Linked DNA regions of Homo sapiens: region 2 is linked to region 1. Evidence: promoter capture Hi-C in human tissues and cell types (Jung and others, 2019). All regions are on one chromosome and are shown on one strand. The core of a region is centred on a gene start or on the middle of the fragment in contact, and the rest is flanking DNA. Distances in the headings are between cores, read along the strand shown.

The links. Contacts are between HindIII fragments. The study calls those that stand out against the background at their distance.
Region 2: a fragment that was not itself captured here is called in contact with the fragment with the promoter of SFSWAP in region 1 in 4 of the 25 tissues and cell types used here (H1 embryonic stem cells, adrenal gland, liver and 1 more).

The regions. Positions count from the first base shown.
Region 1 is chr12:131,709,338-131,712,416 of GRCh38, forward strand. It overlaps SFSWAP (splicing factor SWAP), which reads left to right and starts at 1,753. Exons shown (of 18, transcript NM_004592.4): 1 at 1,753-2,110. The coding sequence starts at 1,893. RefSeq lists enhancers at 1,308-1,397, 1,538-1,827, 1,918-1,987. The HindIII fragment of the contact is 15,511 bases long and covers 1-3,079 here.
Region 2 is chr12:131,865,706-131,868,472 of GRCh38, forward strand. No RefSeq gene overlaps it. Among named protein-coding and RNA genes, the nearest start is that of ULK1, 28 kb to the right of the region's middle. RefSeq lists an enhancer at 2,119-2,715. The HindIII fragment of the contact is 5,868 bases long and covers 1-2,767 here.

The DNA of each region.
Region 1 (3,079 bases), core at 503-3,002:
CCATTTCTGACACCAGAACTGTTAAAAGAGAAACTTTACACAAAACAAATTCGAGTTTATTCGAGCAAGAAAACAATTCATGAATCAGGCAGCATGCAGAAGCAGAAGAGGTTCAGAGAGTTCCACTCAGCAGCATGAGCAGCAAGCTTTTATAGACCCAACACGGAAGCAGAAAAATTACTTGATTGGGTTTTGGTTTGCTTGCATAGGAGCTGGTGTTACAGAGTTGATCTCAAGCTAATGGCCTCCTTATTTGCTTTAGCACCCCACACCTGAACCCAAGGGAAAGCTTGAAGGGAGCCCAGCACCGAAACAAACTAGTAAATGCCTGGGGGCAAACAACAGTGTTTTTATCAAGTAACCATGACACATACATCTTCCTCAGCAGTGGCAGAGCAGTCTTGTAGAGTTAGATAGGAAGATGATGGCCTGGCCACGCATGCTCAGCTGCTGGCCCGGCTCATTCTACAGGTATTAACCAGTATTTGGCCCACAGTGTGCTAAGCACCATTCTAGGTGCTGAGGATGCTAAGGTGACCCCAACAATGTCCCTGATCTCTTAAAGCTAATTCTGGTGGGATGCTGAACACAGGATGTAACCTAAGGTGGTGATGAGAGGTACACAGACAAATCGGAAGGCACAAGTTAGCCACCAGTGAGGGGAAACTCCAGACAACGTAGACACATAAGGCCAGGTGGAGAAATGGATGACTGAGTTAAACTTGGGTAAGGAGCCTGGCAAATGAAGACAGAAGCATGACCCAGTCAGGGGAAACCACAACAAAAGACGTTTGGTGGGAACTGCCTGTTTCTTAATTTCCAAAAATCAGTTAAAGGTTCATATACATTATCTCATTTCAACATCACTGGTAGAAAGATTCCATTTTTATGGAGAGGGGATCTGAGGCCCAGAAAGGAGACGATCTGTCATCGTTTTCCACTCAAGGGCAAACATGGGGATATCCCATCCCATCCCAAAGCCTAAGATTTTGCACTCCAGGCCCTTTGTCTGACCTGAAATTACTGAGCTAAAAGGGACCGAAAGATCCTAATGGAACCACCGATGGGAAAACTGCGGCCCAGGAGGAAACACACCAAGCAAAATTGCACCGTATCCAGGTGGCCAGTCTCCAGACTGGGGTCTCCCTGCCCCGCCAGACCATCTCCCGGCGACAAGGGTCTCAGGTTTCCGAAATCTCGCCACCCGCGAGTGATTTGCAGCGCAGGGGCCTCTGCTGCCTCGGAAACCTTCAAAGGTGGGCGGGTCGGGGACCAAGTCCCCCTAGGGATGGAGAAGGAAACGGGGCCAAGGAAAAGGACATCGCCACCCTGGGCAGAGCACGCACGGCCCCAGCGACTCGGACATGGTGAGGGGCGCGGAGGCTCGGGGTGGACCCGAGGCCTCCACACATGTGGCAGGCTGCAGCAACCCGCCACCCACGAGGACTCGCCCAAGGCCCAGAGCGCGCCGGGCCCCTCCCTCCGACTCCGTCGCCGCCCGACTGGCCGCAGCGGAAGCCGGCGCGCGATCCCACGCTGCGCTTTCGCCACGTCCTGACGGCTGCCCGATAAAACGGACATTAAAATTGCACTTTCCACTGAATACAGCAGCGCCTATTGTGGCGGCACACCTGAATGCGAAAATTAAAGCCAAAATATTTCCTAGCGGCTAAAAGAGCTCCAAGCCTAGGCGAATCTGCCGGTCCGCTCGCCGGAAATGCGGGCTCTCCTGCCGGAAGCTGCCCCTCCACCATTTTGTGGCCCGCTATGGCGGCGGTGTTGAGGTTGGGTACGGGATGCGGGGTCTTTGACTGAAGGGGTAGGCCAAGTGGAGGTATCAGGGACGTCGCGCGGCACAGAAGAGGACCAGCCTGGACGCCGGGGACGCTGTCATGTACGGCGCGAGCGGGGGCCGCGCCAAACCCGAGAGGAAAAGCGGCGCGAAGGAGGAGGCCGGGCCAGGCGGTGCCGGCGGTGGGGGCAGCCGAGTGGAGCTCTTGGTTTTCGGCTATGCCTGCAAGCTGTTCCGGGACGACGAGCGGGCCCTGGCTCAGGAACAGGGACAGCACCTCATCCCCTGGATGGGGGACCACAAGATCCTCATCGACAGGTCGGTTCCTCTCCCCACCCGTCGATCCTTCCCTTCCCTCACCCGCTTGATCTCGTCTGATGTTGACTTGACTGCAAGGACTGCAGAGAGTTTTCTGGAGCCAGCGGGGATCTGGGGGACACCCCCTCCCCTGTCCCCACCTCCTCCTGGTGTTCTGGTGGGGAGGGGGACGGTGAAACCTGCCCTAAGGCACTGGCTGGAATTGCGTGCCGCGTCCGTCTCCGGAGGGATCGTCTCTGGTCCCGCAGCCCCTCTCGACCCCTCACCCTGTCGCTGGGCTGCAGTTGGCGATTCCGCGCGGTGAAAGCAGCCAGTGCCCAGGGTCTTTTCCTGAGTGCACCTGGGCCTGCCGCCCGGCGATGCCATGGGGTCGTGCGCTGCTTTTCTACTTGCCGCGCTCTCACTGCTCGGTGTACTGGGAGGGTACCCTGGGAGGCGTGCCTTTATTCTTCCGAACCGCCGCTCACTGAGACAGTGGCTAGAAGTGTCTCTTGGACCTGTGAGTTAGCCTTAACCTGTTATGCCCCCAGAGCCCTCAGTGGAGCGCCCGTACTTTGCCGGCATGACGTTTGATTTCCCGGTGATAATCCGACGAGTTTGACAGATTGAGGTAGTGAGCAAAGTTGCCCGTCAGTTGGTGGCCACTTGACTTCGTGCGGACCCTGGCCTTGCTCTTGGAAGAGATAGTGTTCTTAGGGCTGGTTTCACTGTCTCTTAAGACTGAAGGGTGGAGCTGGGATATAGATGTGTTGTTTCTTTTCAAATCAAACCTGCTTTAGGTCGTCACTCGAGGGTGTCTAGCGATTATGGGCAGTGGGGGCCTGGGATTAGGGATTTCTAAAGGCGTTTGATTTGAAAAGGATAACATTACATGATGTAGGTGGTTTGCTCCCCTCTTTCTTCCCATTTTTTCAATCCCCCTTCCCCTCGTCTCTGGGTTTTGGGGTTGTTGTGGGGTGGTTTTTTTTC
Region 2 (2,767 bases), core at 259-2,758, 160 kb after region 1:
CAGCACTTGAAGAAGCTGAGGTGGGAGGATCGCTGGAGGCAGGAGTTCGAGACCAGCCTGGGCAACTTAGTGAGACCACCCCCCCCGCCCCCAATCTCTACAAAAAGTAAGAATAAAAATAAAACAGCCAGTCATAGTGGTGCACGCTGTAGTCCCAGCTACTCAGGAAGCTGAGATGGGAGAATTGCTTCAGCCAGGGAGGTGGAAGCTGCAGTGAGCCAAGATCCTGCCATTGCACTCCGGCCTGCACGACAGAGCGAGACCCTGTCTCAGAACAAACAGAAAAAATAAATTGGAGATGTTCTTAGTTTTGGGTGAGGTGGTGATTTACAGGGTGTTCCTTATTTAATTATGCTGTTTATATGTGCTATGTATATTATTATGTATGTATTACATAGCAATAAAGAAAAAGGTCTGAGAAGATTATTTAAGTAAACATACAGGAATTCCCAGTATGTTCTTTTTTCTTTTCTCATATACAGTATTTCTTCTTCACGAAAATTTTCAAGCTTAGAAAGGAGTTGACTTGGCTGGGTGCAGTGGCTCACACCTGTAATCCCAGCACTTTGGGAGGCCGAGGCGGGCAGATCACCTGAGGTCAGGAGTTCGAGACCAGCCTGGCCAACGTGGTGAAACCCCCATCTCTACTAAAAAATACAAAAATTAGCCAAGCGTGGTGGTGGGCGCCTGTAATCCCAACTACTCAGGCTGAGGCAGGAGAATCGCTTGAACCCAGGAGGTGGAGGTTGCAGTGAGCTAAGATCAAGCCATTGCACTCCAGCCTGGGCGACAGAGCGAGAGACTCCGTCTCAAAAAAAAGAAAAAAGAAAAAAGAAAGTAGTTGACTGGGCCTGGCGCGGTGGCTCACACCTGTAATCTCAGCACTTTGGGAGGCTGAGGTGGGTAGATCACTTGAGGTCAGGAGTTCGAGACCAGCTTGGCCAACATGGCGAAACCCCGTATCTACCAAAATACAAAAATTAGCCAGGCAGGGTGGCAGGTGCTTGTAATCTTAGCTACTCAGGAGGCTGAGGCAGGAGAATTGCTTGAACCTGGGAGGTGGAGGTTGCAGCGAGCTGAGATTACGCCACTGCACTCCAGCCTGGGCAACAGAGCAAGACTCTGTCTCAGAAAAAAAAAAAAAAAAAAGGAGTGGACTGTAATTCCGGCACTTTGGGAGGCTGAGGCAGGTGGATCACTGGAGCCCTGGAGTGTAAGACCACCCTGGGCAACATGGCAAAATCCCGTCTGTGAAAAAAATTCAAAAATTAGCCGGGCATGGTGGTGTGCACTGGTAGTCCCAGCTACTAGGGAGGCTGAGGTAGGAGGATCGCTTGAGTCTGGGAGTTGGAGGCTGCAGTGAGCTATGATTTCTCCACTGCACTTTAGCCTGGGGCAACAGAGTGAGACCCTGTCTCAAAAGAAATTTTTTTTAAAAGAAAGTAGTTGAATGAACAGCCTTTTATAAGCACCGCACCTAGATTCCAGCATTGTGAGGGCTTTGGATGTTGCTTTATTTATTTTTGTGCTTGTTATAGCAATTTTGAAATAAAAACAGATATCATGACATGTCTCTCCTAAATATTTTCTCTCTCTCTCTAAGAAGGTGCACATTTTCCTACATAACAATATCACGATCACATTTGACAAAATTAACAATTCCGGCCCAGGCACCATGGGTCATGCCTGGAATCCCAGCACTTTCTGAGACTGAGACTATAGGATCGCTTGAGCCTAGGGTTCAAGACCAGCCTGGGCAACATAGTGAGACCCCTTATCTAAAAAACACCAAAAACACAATGATTTTGTAATGTTGTGTCAGACCCATCCATATTGAAATGTGTCCCATCCCCACACACAATGATTTTGTAAGGTCGTGTGAGACCCATCCATATTGAAATGTGTCCCGTCCCCACAAAATATCTTTACATGGATTCGTTTGAACGATTACCCCATCCAGGGCCACGTGAGTTGTGTAAACCTCTTGAGCTACAGTGGCTTCCTATTTCCTCCACGTTGTGAGTGAACATCAGGGCCAGTTGTCCTGTGATGGAAGCTTGAAGCCATGTGGGCCGGGGAAGATGAGGAGTACAGGGGCCCGGGAGGCGTGGCTTTGGTTTAGGTGATCAGGGACAGCCCCTTAGGAGGGGACATCCGGCTGAATCCTAAAGTCACAGAGTGCCAGCCTTGTGCGGTTCCAGCGGAGTATGAGCCTGGCAGGGCTGAGGTGGGAGCTCACATGACTGAGCTTGGCCCGAGGTGTGTGGTGGGCATGGAAGGATGGTTAGAAGTTACGTCGTGGGTGCTGAACCAGGGAACGGACATGAGCCCACCCAGGCCTGTGGCTGGCAGGGCCGCAGCTGAGTCACTTGCTGGCCAGGCTGCAGGCCTGGCTCTGAGCCCTTTGTGGCATCAGATCCTCCATCCTCGAGGCAGCCCATGGGGTTCCCTCCAGGGTCTCCAGGAGCCGCAGCCACTCAGCCCCATGCAGGTCTGTCCCCTGCCCCATGGCCATGTGCGCGGACTGGGGTGCAGCTGAGAATGGTTCCCATTCAGGTCCAGGGCCCGGGCATCTGACCCTCAGCAGGGCCACAGCAGGGCCACAGCAGGGCCAAGCAGCCACAGGCCAAGCTCAGAGCTGCAGCCCGGGACGCCTGCACCCTCCACGGGGTGCTGAGGCCAGGCTGGCTCCTGCAGGAAGGGCAGGATACCCACAGGCCAGCGGTGGGAAGGCTGGATGCACGCTGGTGCCACGGCCCAATCCACC